2 separate regions of the Homo sapiens genome follow, and region 1 is linked to region 2. Evidence: promoter capture Hi-C in 16 types of primary human blood cells and fetal thymus (Javierre and others, 2016). All regions are on one chromosome and are shown on one strand. The core of a region is centred on a gene start or on the middle of the fragment in contact, and the rest is flanking DNA. Distances in the headings are between cores, read along the strand shown. Region 1 holds the start of IQSEC3-AS2 (IQSEC3 antisense RNA 2). Region 2 holds the start of IQSEC3-AS3 (IQSEC3 antisense RNA 3).

Region 1 (6,001 bases), core at 1,175-3,674, 40 kb before region 2:
TAGTTAAGGAAATACCCCTAACTAAAGATAATACTTCCAGAACAAGTGAGAGATGCCACGAGGAACATCTAAGCTTTCTCTAGTCCAGGGTATTCGGTAATGCAGTTTTATCCAGTTTTCTGGGAAATATGTTCTTGTTTCATTTACTGGAAGCTTCTTGTTGGAATCTTTTGTATCTTCTTTTCTCACTTCCAGGAAGAGTAACCTTTGTAGGCGTAGAGATTTTTCTAATCCCACTATTTCTTGTGCTTTGTTTTATTTTCTCTTCTGAAAGTTCTTTACCCATTCACTTATCTTCTGACCAATAACATGACCATAAAAATGATTTTGTATCTGTTTGTATGACAAAAAGGGTTTTTAATTTGTTTCATCAAACCAAAAACGAAGAAATAATCTATAGCAAGAGTGATTTGATCAGATATGGCATTCTTAAGACATTTTACTGCCCTCAAGAGACCATGGAATGGCTTAAGAAACGAGGTTTTTAGAGATTTCTTTTATTATGATTAAAAAAACAAAACAGGAAGGACAGCTGCCTATGAAGAAAGACTGGAGTGTGTTGCTGTCTCCAGCAGGGACACTTTCCATAATTCCTTTAGCACCCTCAAGTTAAAGTGGCTCCCATTGTCTGAATCAGTATTTTCTACCAGGCCAAATCTGGGTATAATTTGTTCTAAGATTATTTTGACCACATCCCCGGCAGTGGCAGCTGGGAGGGGAAGGCCTCCACCCTGGAGAGGTGGTCTACCATTACCAGCAGATACGTTAGTCTCCCTATTTTGGACATTTCTGTAAAATCTACTTGAATGCTTTGAAATGGCCTTAACCCAGGAGGTTTCCCTCCGGTAGTCTGTTTTCTTTTTTTTTTTTTTTTTTTTTTTTTGAGACGGAGTCTTGCTCTGTGGCTCAGGCTGGGGTGCAGTGGCACAATCTCGGCTCACTGCAAGCTCCGCCTCCCGGGTTCACGCCATTCTCCTGCCTCAGCCTCCCGAGTAGCTGGGACTACAGGTGCCCGCCACCGTGCCCGGCTAATTTTTTTGTATTTTTAGTAGAGACGGGGTTTCACTGTGTTAGCCAGGATGGTCTCGATCTCCTGACCTCGTGATCCGCCCACCTCGGCCTCCCAAAGTGCTGGGATTACAGGCGTGAGCCACCGCGCCCGGCCGGTAGTCTGTTTTCTAACTACCTTTTTGTTTATTCTCTGGCAGGTCACATAACACCCACACACTTGTTTAACAAGGGTGTAGATCCCTATACACCCGTAATTCTTGAGTATTGCATCACACATGGCCTGGGGACCCCAGTGACCTCCCTTACAGAGTATGGATATCAGTTCTCTCCTTGTGAGTTTGCTTATCATTTCGGTCCCATCAGGGAGCACCCACCTCCCATCCTCAGTTTGAGTGGCCCTATCTTGCCCAGCTCTTCCTCCTCCTCTTCAGAAAGTTGGGGTTTTAATACCACCTTAGGGATATCTGGGATTAGGCCAAATAGTTTAACTTCTACCTCCAGGGAGGCTGCTTAGCAGCTTTATCCACAAGCCTGTTCCCTAACCCTAACCCTAACCCTAACCCTAACCCTAGCTTCTATAGAGTTTCCTTTCTGATGGCCGTTTACATGAACTATGGCTACCTCTGCTGGAAGCAGGAGGCTTTTTAAAACTTGTTTGACCAGTTTCCCATATACCAATTCTTTCTACCTGCTATTTATTAGGCTCCACTTTGTCCAGATCTTTCCAAAGGTGTGTACTACTCCATAGGCATATCTGGAAATAGCATATACAGTGCCTTCTTGGCCTTATATGAGCTTCAGGGCTTGGTTAAGAGCATGTAATTCACAGGTTTGGGCTGAGCAGTTATTGGGTAATCTACCTTTTTCTCATAAGGTTTGTTTGTTTCCATCAATGACAGCCTGGACATTGTGTCTTTTACCATCTATCACTCAGGATGGCCTATTCACAAACAGCCTCATTCCATCGAGTAGTGGAATTTCTTTAAGGTCTGGTCTAACTTTGGTTTGATATTCTATCATATGTAAACAGTTATGGTCTGATACCTGCTTATTCTCCTCTCATTTCCGTAAGAAACTGACTGGAGTTCATTTAGGCGCCTTTCCAGGGCCCACTGACCCCAGGAGGAACTTGAGGAGGCAAGGGGCTGACCAGCTGGCCTTTCAGGGTGTCTTTAGCCGGGCTCTGCCGGGTCTGGCTCTGGGCCAACAGCTGCTGGTTTGAAGAGCTGCCAGCCTGTGGTGCCTTCCCTGATGGGCACTCTCATCAGCAAAGGCATCCCTGGCTCCTTCTTTGCTTTGAAGGCACCATCCGTCTCCCTGGCAGGCCGAGAGCTGCACTGTTTGTATTCCACGCCACCCCTGCTGGTGACCCAGCAACTGCAAAGGGTCCCAGGTTTGTCCCGCTCTGGGAGGGGACTTGGTGGCTTTTCGTCAGCTGCAAGGGTCGCCCCTTGGCCCAGCCCAGCTCTGGGAAACAGAACTTTTATACACCCCACCTCAAAGCATCCTGGCGGACTTCTCCCCAGCACGCGCTCTCTCTACTTCAGGGATTGCAAACTGGCATTTTCTATCACCTGTATTGGGTTATTAAGTTTTTTTAACTGATCACCAGCATTTAAAAATCCTGTTTCACATAAAAAGTCAGAATTCTGGCCTCTGACAAAGCAGACAGTCTGGCAACACAGGGCTGGCACTGTGAGAACAGTCGAGCAGCTGCAGAGGTGTGCCCTCTTCAGTTAGCCACAGTCCCCATCCAGCCCTGCAGCCCTCCTTCTCACCATTTGCTGGCCGTGTTGTCCTTTGAGTTTATAACCCTAGTTCGGATCTTCCTTATGTAGCCCCCCGGCCTCTCTGCAGCCTTACTGACGGCTGCCCCTGGTGGACTCACAGCCTCTCAGTGAAACAGCAGCAAACCTTAATGCTCATCTCATCCACTCACCCTTCCACATCCTGAACCCTTTCTACACCCTCCTGACAAACAGCCATCTAGTCTTTGCCGTACGCAACCCACTATTCCTCAGGCAGCCTGATCCTAAACTCTCCTCCACATCCCCTTCTCACTTGCATCCCCCAGTTCCCGGACCCTGTCCCTCCTCAGTGGCCGCACTGCACCCTTTCCCAGCACCTCCTTGTTGCTTGAGCCTCTAGAACCTTCCCCCAGCCCTGCCAACCTCTCCACATCCTCTCACTTCCTCTTGTACTCTTTCTTCCTTTTGCATTATTTTTCTCCCCAGTCTTAACTTTGGTGTCTCTCTTTGATCTGTCTTTTCCAGTCTCTTGCTCTCGCTCGTTTTCTTTTTCTATCTATCTCTATCATCCTGTTTCCTTTTTCCCTCACACTTAGTTTCTTTCTCTTTCTCTCTCTGGGCACAAGCTAAACTGTGCTGGGCCCTGGCCCCTGACAATCTGCAAAGATGGACAGCTCTGTCGAAACAACAAAGATTCAGCAACAACTTTTATCAACAGCTTTCAGCAGCCAGCTTCCACACACAGTTGTGTGGCCGCCTCTCCCTTGCCTTCAGGGTCAGCAGCTTAACTCTTTCTCTCTCTGGCCCTCTATGTTTGCCATTTCCTCCCCTTTGTCTTTCCAATTTTCTTTTTTACTTTTTCTCTTTCTCCCTTTTCCAGTTTCTCTTTTCTTTCTTCTTACAAAAACCTTCTGAGCTTCCCTCAGTAATTCCTTAATCGGTTTTTCATTCCACCTATCAATCTTTTGCAGTTTCTTAGTAATATCAGGCCAGCTTTTGTCACAGAACTAAGTCCTAAAAGGCCTTGCCCTACTGGGTGCTCTGGACCTAATCCTGAATATTTTCTTATTTGATCCCTGAGCCTCTGCAGAAATGCGGAGGGAGTCTTCTCTTTTTATTGTTGGATCTCGAATGCTTTCAAGACATTTTGTGTTCTAAGAGTGGACTTTTTAATCCCTTTAATTATTAGTTCCCTTGGGTCCTGCACTGGGGCCTGATCTCTGAGGTTATTGTTATCCCCTCTGGGATTTGCATTTGGGAATTTCTGCTCAGCTGGCAGGACTCCTTACCCGGGAGAATGGGGTCTCTCCCAAATGGTCATGGCTGCCCTTATAATCATTCCCCTCTCTTCCCCAGGAAACAGAATATTTATGATTGACATTATCTTAGCCCAAGTATAAAAATGGGGTCATAAAAATTGATCTAGCTGCTCTGCTAAACCGAGGGGGTCTTCCCAGAGTGGCCTCATTTTCTTTTTAGAATTCTGAACCTCAGTACTTGCTAGAGGCACACTCACAAACCCAACAAACCCAACTCCTCTCTGTCCCGTAGAGACTTCTCTAAGAGGGTACCTGTTAGACATCTGCTGTTTAGAAGGAACGGGGAAATTCTCAATGTCCTTCTTACATTGTTCTAATTCTTTCCTCTAGTTTGGATAAGGATTTAAGGAAGCATTGGGTTTAGCTTCTTCGTGACCCCCCGATTCCTCTTCCTCCGACCTTCTTGCTGCCCCCCGATCGCCCTGTTCTGTTCTTCCTGAGATGTATGGGGGGGCAAGCGTGTTAGGGGATCCCAGGGCTTTTCATTGGGTGAGGGCTTTTTACTATGCTCTTTTTCTTCTTTTTAAAGGGGAACATGGGGGTTAATTCACTAATCCAACAAAGAGCATAACCTGTCTCCTCTCGTGAGGATGGAGTTTTATTATTCACAGAAAATTAAAGCTTGGCACACCCAATCCTCATCTGAGCCAAACTCAGGCCAAAAGACCAAAGGTTGACGAATGGGCTTTTTGGGCCAGATAAAACAACAAACTTTATCATCTTTTGCTTTTCCTTGTCCCTGGTTTGAGGACTATCCCTTCAAACCTGCAGCATTCTCCCCAGCGGACTATTTGGGGGAATGTCAGAAGGGTTCTCTTTAGTTCCCTCTTTCCTCTGTTCTCTAGGCCTAGAATTCTTGTTTCCCATTTTTGGTTAGTCTCTGTGTCTGAGCTTTTCCCTGTGTACTCAGCCTCCCTTACTGGAGGTTTCTTACACACCCCAAGACCTCCGAAAATGCACAACTACCAAGCAGTACTTACAGATCAATTTTCCTACCTTGGCTCATGCGTGAGGTTGCCTGGTTGCCTGCTTTTCTCCCTGTGTCACTTTAGTTGTCTCCTGAATAACAGTTTCAGGTTTGTCTATGGCTTCTTCGGGGAGCTGAGACACCTGGACAGAGTGGGCCACACAAATCGAGTGGGACACATCTCCCCTGTCAGCTGGAGTCTCACTCCATGCAGGCATGGAAATCCCCATATGGGCCACCAGGTTGTGAGAAACAGACTCACCCGTCCAAACCCAAAGAATGGACTCAGAGACCCAGAGAACAGCGAAAGTGAGACTTGTGATGACGGTCTTGCAAAATCGGGTGTCTCTTGAGCAGGCACACCCAGCACAGTTTCAACAAGCAGTTTATCCCCTAGTGCACAGGTCTCTCCCCTGGTTCCTCATAGGCTGAGTATTATGGGTTACAATCTTCCCGGATGATGCCTGTTCATTGCTGGGCAGGGGCTGTAGGTGGTTTTTTAGGGTTGTTTTGCTCCATTTTGTTGCAGCCCACAATGCATTGCAATCCTAGCTAGCTCAGGGGCTCATAAAGTATTTGATTTATGACCGAAGTAGCTGGGCAGGCTGATAAGAACAAACAAAATGAACTATTTTGTAGGCTAGTAAACTTTCATCTTAGACTAAACTTCTTTGGTTCGGGGAGGGCAACTAAGGAGTGGGGAAGTGGGGGGAAGGGGGATGGTGGGGAAGTGGGGGAGGCCGAGAAGCAGGCATCAGCTATCCAAGCAGGGGCCTAGTGTATCCTGTTTCTTCTGTAGTTTGCTGACCTAAGCCAATTCAGGCACTTCATCCTGGAAATGGCCCACTGTATACATTATTTCCTTCAAAGAGCCAGGGGAGTAAGAGAAAGTGTCGTGTGACCTAGAAGCTTGGGATTTGGAAGGGAGCCGAGGGGAAGGGCAGACCCAGGCAGCA
Region 2 (6,424 bases), core at 322-2,821:
CCATCATGAATCATGACACTGAAGACCCCTTAGACAATCAGCTGGTCCAGCCCTCTCATTTTACCCTGGCAGAAACTGAGGCCCTGGGGAAAAGAAATGACTAGTCTCCTGGCCAGCGGCAGAGAAATTGAACAAAATCAGGTACTCTCCCACCTCTTACCTTGGCGTTATTTGCTATGCCCCGATCCTCTCAATTTGGGAAGAAAGCACAGCTGAGAAACTGATTCGTAAGTCTCAAGAGGTCTGAGCCAGATTTAGCTTCCTCTCTCTGGTGCATGTATATCTTAAAGGGCCGACGGATGGCTGTCTAATGATACAATTCCAGGCAGAATTAGTCGGTGGGGCAGGGAGGGGTCCTGTCCACTGACAGGCGGGTCAGCCCACACCTAATGAAAATGATCATGTATTAAGCCCTGTTGTATACCAGGAACTTCACACCCACTGCCTCCTTTAACACTCATAACACCCCTGCCCAGTAGATGTTCTCAGTGTTGTCTCCATTCTCAAGGTGAGGAAATGAGCCACCAAGAGGCTCCATGACTTGAAGTAACAGCTCCACGGCCTTTTCTTAATCCACCCACTGTTATTGGCATAGAGCAGTGCTTCCAAAAGGTGGTCCCTGGACCAGCAGCGTCAGCTTCACCTGGAAGCTTGTTAGCAATGCAAACTCTCAGTTCCCGCTCCAGGCCCACTGAATCAGACTCTGCGGCTCGGGGCCCAGCAATCCGTGCACTAATAAACCCGCCACGCAATTCCAATGCATCACTCAGTTTGAGACCCACCAGCAAACAGGGATGCTGCCGAGCCCAGCAAAAGAAAAATCAGCTCAGGGCTTCTAAATTGTAAGGGTAGTTTGAACTTAGTTCTTTGGGTACCTGAGTCTCAAGGTGTGAGTGGCAGCCAGCCCTACCCAGGCCCCCTCAAAAGAGAGTTTCTTCGTCCTCATGACATCACCAGGAACACTGGCAGATCCTGCATCAGCTTCCTTCTCTTCTATTTTCTTAGCCGCATCGCACTTTGCCAAAACGCCTTGACCTTTGTTGAGCATGTTATGAATTCTGACGAATAAAATAACTCTCTGGAGGATGGGGATATTTTTAATTGAATTGTAGAAGCCAACAACTGCCAAATAAAGCCAGGGTTTCTACATTCCGTGGCAATAGGTGGTTTAGATTTCCTTCCTAATCCTGAAACCTGGGCTTAGTCTCAGCCAGGAGCACGAGCTAGGGCTTCACCTTCCAGATCTTCGCCGTCTCTTCCAGCCAATTAAAAATCCCTGCTGCTACCATTACCTATTTTCAGCTCCCAACCAGTTCCTTTGTCTGCCAGACACTGTCTTGCTATCATTAAAAAAAAAAAAGAAGGTTGAGATGATGAAATTCATTTTGATCACAGGCGTGTAGGACGCTTCATTTCCCTGCAACACAAACTGATTCCACGCACAGATCAATGTTAACAAGCAATTTTATGCAAGATTGTACCTGTTTCTTCAGAGGCAGGGAACATACATCCTTTTTCCCCAACGCTTGTGAGGTATTTGCTGCAGACCTTGCAGAAGCTCACAGGAAAGAGGGGGAGGCCTTAGCAAAACCGGTACCACTCGTGATCCACGCGCCCGTCAGCAGCACCTCCTGAGACAGGTCCGGTCATGCCTGGCTGGAAGCGGTCTAATCGGTGCCCATTGCTCTAGTTCTCAGCACTCACTCACTTGCATGTGCAGTGGGAGGAAGGGGGCCTATGCCCTCCACACTGCCTCACTGCCTGGAGTCTGGAAGCCTCGGGGCCATTTGCAAGTCCATCACAGGTCTCGGTGTCAGCTCCAGATAATCTTGGCAGCAAAGCAGGCTGAGTAATCCTGGGCCGTTGGGTAGAACTTCCAAAGGCACAGGCCACTGAGGCTCCTTCTCCAGCTGCCGGCATGCAGTCATTCCTGGTCATCTCTCACTCACTCATTCATTCATCCCACAAAACAGTGATTGGGTGCCCATACACCAGGGAGGCAGAGATTAAAATAACTGCCCTATCTTGAAGGAGCCCGTAGCCTCGTGGGGAAGACAGGCAGGCAAATGTTATGACACAGGGAGATAAACGCAATGGTCGACAGAAGGTGGGTTCCGGGGACAACGGAGGTCAGGGAAGACTCCTAGAGAGGATGAGAGCTAAACAGAGACCTGCAGGGTTGGGGCTGGGCAGCAGGAAGAAATAACAGCATGCACCAAAGTGGGGGCGTGAGAGCCAGGCTGCAGGGGGGGACCATGCTGGGGAAGCGGCGAGAGAAGCTGGAAGCAGACAGGGCGTCTTTGCTTTGCTGAGAAACTTGGGTTTCACACTAGGGATGTGGGGAGCCCTGGGAGAAATGTGAGCAGGGACATGAGCTATGATGCCAAGTTAGCAGCCTAGAAGGATGGCTCTGAAGATGGTTTGGAGGCAGGGAGACTGGTGAGAAGGCTACTGCTGTTAACAGCCATGATGAGAAAGGATGAAGCCCTAAACTGCGGCTGTGGGCATGGGGAGGGGAGAAGTTGGCAGAGCCCAGGGCCGTGGAGAAGCAGCAGGGCCATGGCCCACGTGGGAGGGAGCCAGGCAGCCAGCGCACAGCCAGTGGTCTCCGAGCTGATGAGAATTCAGAATACGCGTGTGCTTCAGGCCCCCTGTGTTGGTACTCCATCTACCAAATAAACACGTACAGATTTTCCATTTCAGAGGCAGGGAGATGCTGGATTCAGGGACATTTCATCTGAAGAATCTATCAAACTAGACATTGTCAAATATTTACTCAAGCAAGTTAGACTGTTAGCTAGCTAGAGCCACTGGAATGGGGGCAGCCACTAGCATGGGGGCAGCCACCTGGACAGTGGTTGTTGAGAGGGGGATAGGGCCCAGTTTCAGGTCAGTGAGGAGGGGCAGCTGCAATGGATGAGGGGCTCCTCCAGAGGAAAGAGTCCACCTGGGGAGGGAGGGTGATGGAAGCCAAGAAGACGGTGTTTCCAGAAGGGAGCAATTAACCATGTCGATGCTGCCAAGGGGCTGGGATGAGGACAGAGATAGGCCGTTGGATTTGGCCACATAGCAACCAGCAATGGCCGTGACAAGAGAAGTGTTAATGGTGCCTGGGGTTGGATGCTTGAGTGGAGCAGGTTGAAGAGTGAATGGAGAAGAGGAAGTGGAGGCAGCAAAGAGGAGAGAAGAGAGGCAGTGTCTAGAGAGCAACGAGGGCTCAAGGCAGGGTTCTGATTTGTAAGATGAAAAAGACAAGCACTTGGGTGCTCCTGAGGATGATTCAGTAGAGGGGAGGCGTGGTAGCTATCTGAAAGAACACCTCAAACTTCGTGTGCCCCAAGATGGAGACTCCGTCTCTCCAGCATGTGTCTGCACCATGATACACTCACACTAGAGAACGGTACCTCCAGGCCCCTGGGTGCTCCTGAGATGATTCAGTAGAGGGGAGGCACGGTAGCTATCTGAAAGAACACCTCAAACTTCGTGTGCCCCAAGATGGAGACTCCGTCTCTCCTCCAGCGTGTGTCTGCACCATGATACACTCACACTAGAGAATGGTACCTCCAGGCCCCTGGGTTCTCCTGAGATGATTCAGTAGAGGGGAGGCACGGTAGCTATCTGAAAGAACACCTCAGACTTCGTGTGCCCCAAGATGGAGACTCCGTCTCTCCTCCAGCGTGTGTCTGCACCATGATACACTCACACTAGAGAACGGTACCTCCAGGCCCCTGGGTGCTCCAGCCAGAGCTCCAGGATGCACCAGTGATGCCTCCCTTTCCTCACTTCCCACATTCCCTGCACCTCGAGTCCCATCTGTTCTTCCTCTAAGATGCAGCTGGATCATTCATTCAGTTTGTTTCCACTGCTCCTGCCTTAGCCCAAGCCCCATTATCTGTAGCTTGGACCTCTGCAGTAGCATCCTAACTGGGCCCCTGCTTCTGTCTTCTTCCCTGCCCCTCTGCCATTCATTTTCTCTCCAACAGCCAGGGAAATCTTCTTAGAACAAACAGGACCCTGTCGCTCCTCTGATCATACCCTCTATTGTGTCCCAGTGCATTCAGGATAAACTCCCAAATCCTTCTCATGACCCACAAAGCTGACAGACTGAGCCCTGGCTGCTGCCCCACAGTCACCATTCTCCCTGTTACTGTCTGCACTGCAACCTTGCGGACCCTGCCTAGGTCCTTGAAGCTCCTCCCTGCCGTGAGCCTTTGCATATGCTTCCTCCCTTAGCCCACCTGACAGCTCTCCCCTCTCTCCTTCCTTTGGCCACCTCCTACTCATCTTTCAGGCCTCAGCTCAAATGCCATGTCCCCAAAGAGTCCTTTCCAGACATACAATATAAAATATATCTCCTTTGTCCTCTCCTGGAACCGTCGTTTCCCTACATAGAACTCATCATGACTATAGGTAAAGAATTATTTTTGACTCTGTGTTCAATGCCTGTCTCTCCCACCAAGACAGAGACTGTGTTGCTGGCCACTTACACCAGGTCCCGAGCACAGCCTTGCACACGGGGCCACTCAGTGCTCGTTGCTGAAAGAGTCAACCAGCCACTGCCACAGGGCACAAAAAGCACCAGAAAGGGGAAGGCAGGAGGTCAGCGATATGGACCCTGCTGTGGGCTCCAGGTGCCCAGGCCAGCTCTGAACCTGCAGGGTGACCACAGAGCCCCCGTGCTGACTGCCCACGCATGCACCAAGAGGCTCTCCTGTGTAACTGTGTCCACGGGCTTCTCCTTGGCCTCTCACAGGTCCCCACCAAGCCATCTGGGTAAGATCACAGCCCCTAGGAAGACATGCATTAGTGCCAGCCACTGAGCAGCAGAGAGCCAGGGAGAGGTGAGGGAGAGGAGGGCACAGGGGACCACCTGCCCCAGGAGATGTCAGCAAGGAATGAGATGTGTGCAGCACGCCTGTAGGGCTGGCTGTCTAGTGTACTTCAGTCTCATATGTAATAAAAACATAATGGTACAATGGTTCATATTGCACAAGCTTGAGAAGATGAGGTCATTGCACACATAGTGAAGCACTTAGAGCCATACTCAGTACAGAGAGCTCAGAGGGAACTCCCCCGACTTGAGTAAGGGACCTCCCTGCCACCCCACACACACACAGGAGTGAAGAGAAGAGAGCCCAGTGGGGCAGGGAGAGGCCTCACAAGATTAGGAAGCTGAAAGCCTGCTCTCCCTAGCTGTGGGAGCATGGGGCCAGCCCTACGTGGCATTAGTTTTGTCTTCTGTAAAATGGGGAGATGATACACCAGAAAAGACCACCCGGGAATGTGTGGTGCTCTTTACCTTAAAGATGACCAATGAGGAGAGATGACTCCAGGCCACCCTGGGTGGAGGCTGCAGCATGGATTTGGTAAACTGCCCACACTCAGCTCCCCAAGAGGATTCCAGGGCAGCAAAGAAGGCTGGAAAGTGGGAATTAGGAGTGCTGGTAGACACTGCAAAATAAGAGAAGCAGCAGGACAGAGAGTGAGAGAAGGGGAGGGAGCAAAAGAGGGCACGGTGCAAGCAGAAGCTTATGCTCAGGGAGTGAACAGAGGAGGCTCATGCTGTAGAGGGCCGAGGCTTATAGGTGCTTCCAGGGGGACACGGACCCTGGAATGAGCAGGGCTTATGGTAGACAGCACAGTCCCACCCCCAGCCACCTTCCCCAGGATGACACAGGCCCCATCAGGAACGCAAACAGTGATCAGTGATTCCCCCTAGAGGAGGGTGGGGATGAAGCCACCAGCCAGCCAGGAGTGCTGCTGCGGGTCGTCTGCCCCCTGCCGTTGGGAGCGTCTGCAGTGCTTCAGAGATGGCCCGTGCCTCCGGGTGCCAGTCCTGAGAGGTCACCTGGTCCAACCCCCAGCTCTCCAGTGAGGAAGTGCCTTCCTCAGGCAGGAGGGTAGAGTGTCCCACCACTCAGCACAGCTTCCTCCCTTCCAGCTAGGGATTTCACAGCCAGAAAATGTCATTTTTTCCCCCAGGGTCTGAGAAACCCAGAATAGCACCTGTTCATGAAACACAGATACCCTGTGGTGGCAAATGCAGTGAGGGGAGGAAGGCAGGACGGCAGGTGCATAGCCAGGGGAAGAACTACATCTGTTTATGCCTCCATCCACCCCTCCCTCACCACCCCCATGCAAAAGCAGCCCCGATAGCCAGGTGGGGACACATGCCCCTAAGGACGGCTGCCTGGTGGCCTGTGAGTTGCTGGACTCACTTTAAAAGCCGCAGTGAGGCCTACCCTTGCACTCAGCTCAGTCTTTGGTTTCACAATTTAGGAACAACCGGGAGATCTTGCAGAGAATGCTGATTCCCAGGACTTGCCCCCAAATATTCTAATTTGCTGGGTCTGGGGTGGGGTCCAGCGAGCTGCATTTTAACAAACCACCTTATGACTCCGCTGTGGGGTCCTGAGAGCACACA

What was found. The method cuts DNA at HindIII sites, captures the fragments that hold promoters and counts their contacts. A CHiCAGO score of 5 or more calls a contact.
Region 1: a contact is called between a fragment that was not itself captured here and the fragment with the promoter of IQSEC3-AS3 in region 2, in 3 of 17 cell types (M2 macrophages, M1 macrophages and M0 macrophages). The highest score is 5.5, in M2 macrophages.

The regions. Positions count from the first base shown.
Region 1 is chr12:106,545-112,545 of GRCh38, forward strand. All of the region lies in intron 2 of IQSEC3 (IQ motif and Sec7 domain ArfGEF 3), which reads left to right. IQSEC3-AS2 (IQSEC3 antisense RNA 2) reads right to left here and starts at 5,217. Exons shown (of 2, transcript NR_184284.1): 1 at 5,075-5,217; 2 at 1-333. The HindIII fragment of the contact is 4,546 bases long and covers 152-4,697 here.
Region 2 is chr12:147,598-154,021 of GRCh38, forward strand. IQSEC3-AS3 (IQSEC3 antisense RNA 3) reads right to left here and starts at 1,572. Exons shown (of 10, transcript NR_033859.2): 1 at 1,482-1,572. The region is part of intron 5 of IQSEC3 (IQ motif and Sec7 domain ArfGEF 3); the gene reads left to right. RefSeq lists an enhancer at 5,439-6,353. The HindIII fragment of the contact is 4,344 bases long and covers 649-4,992 here.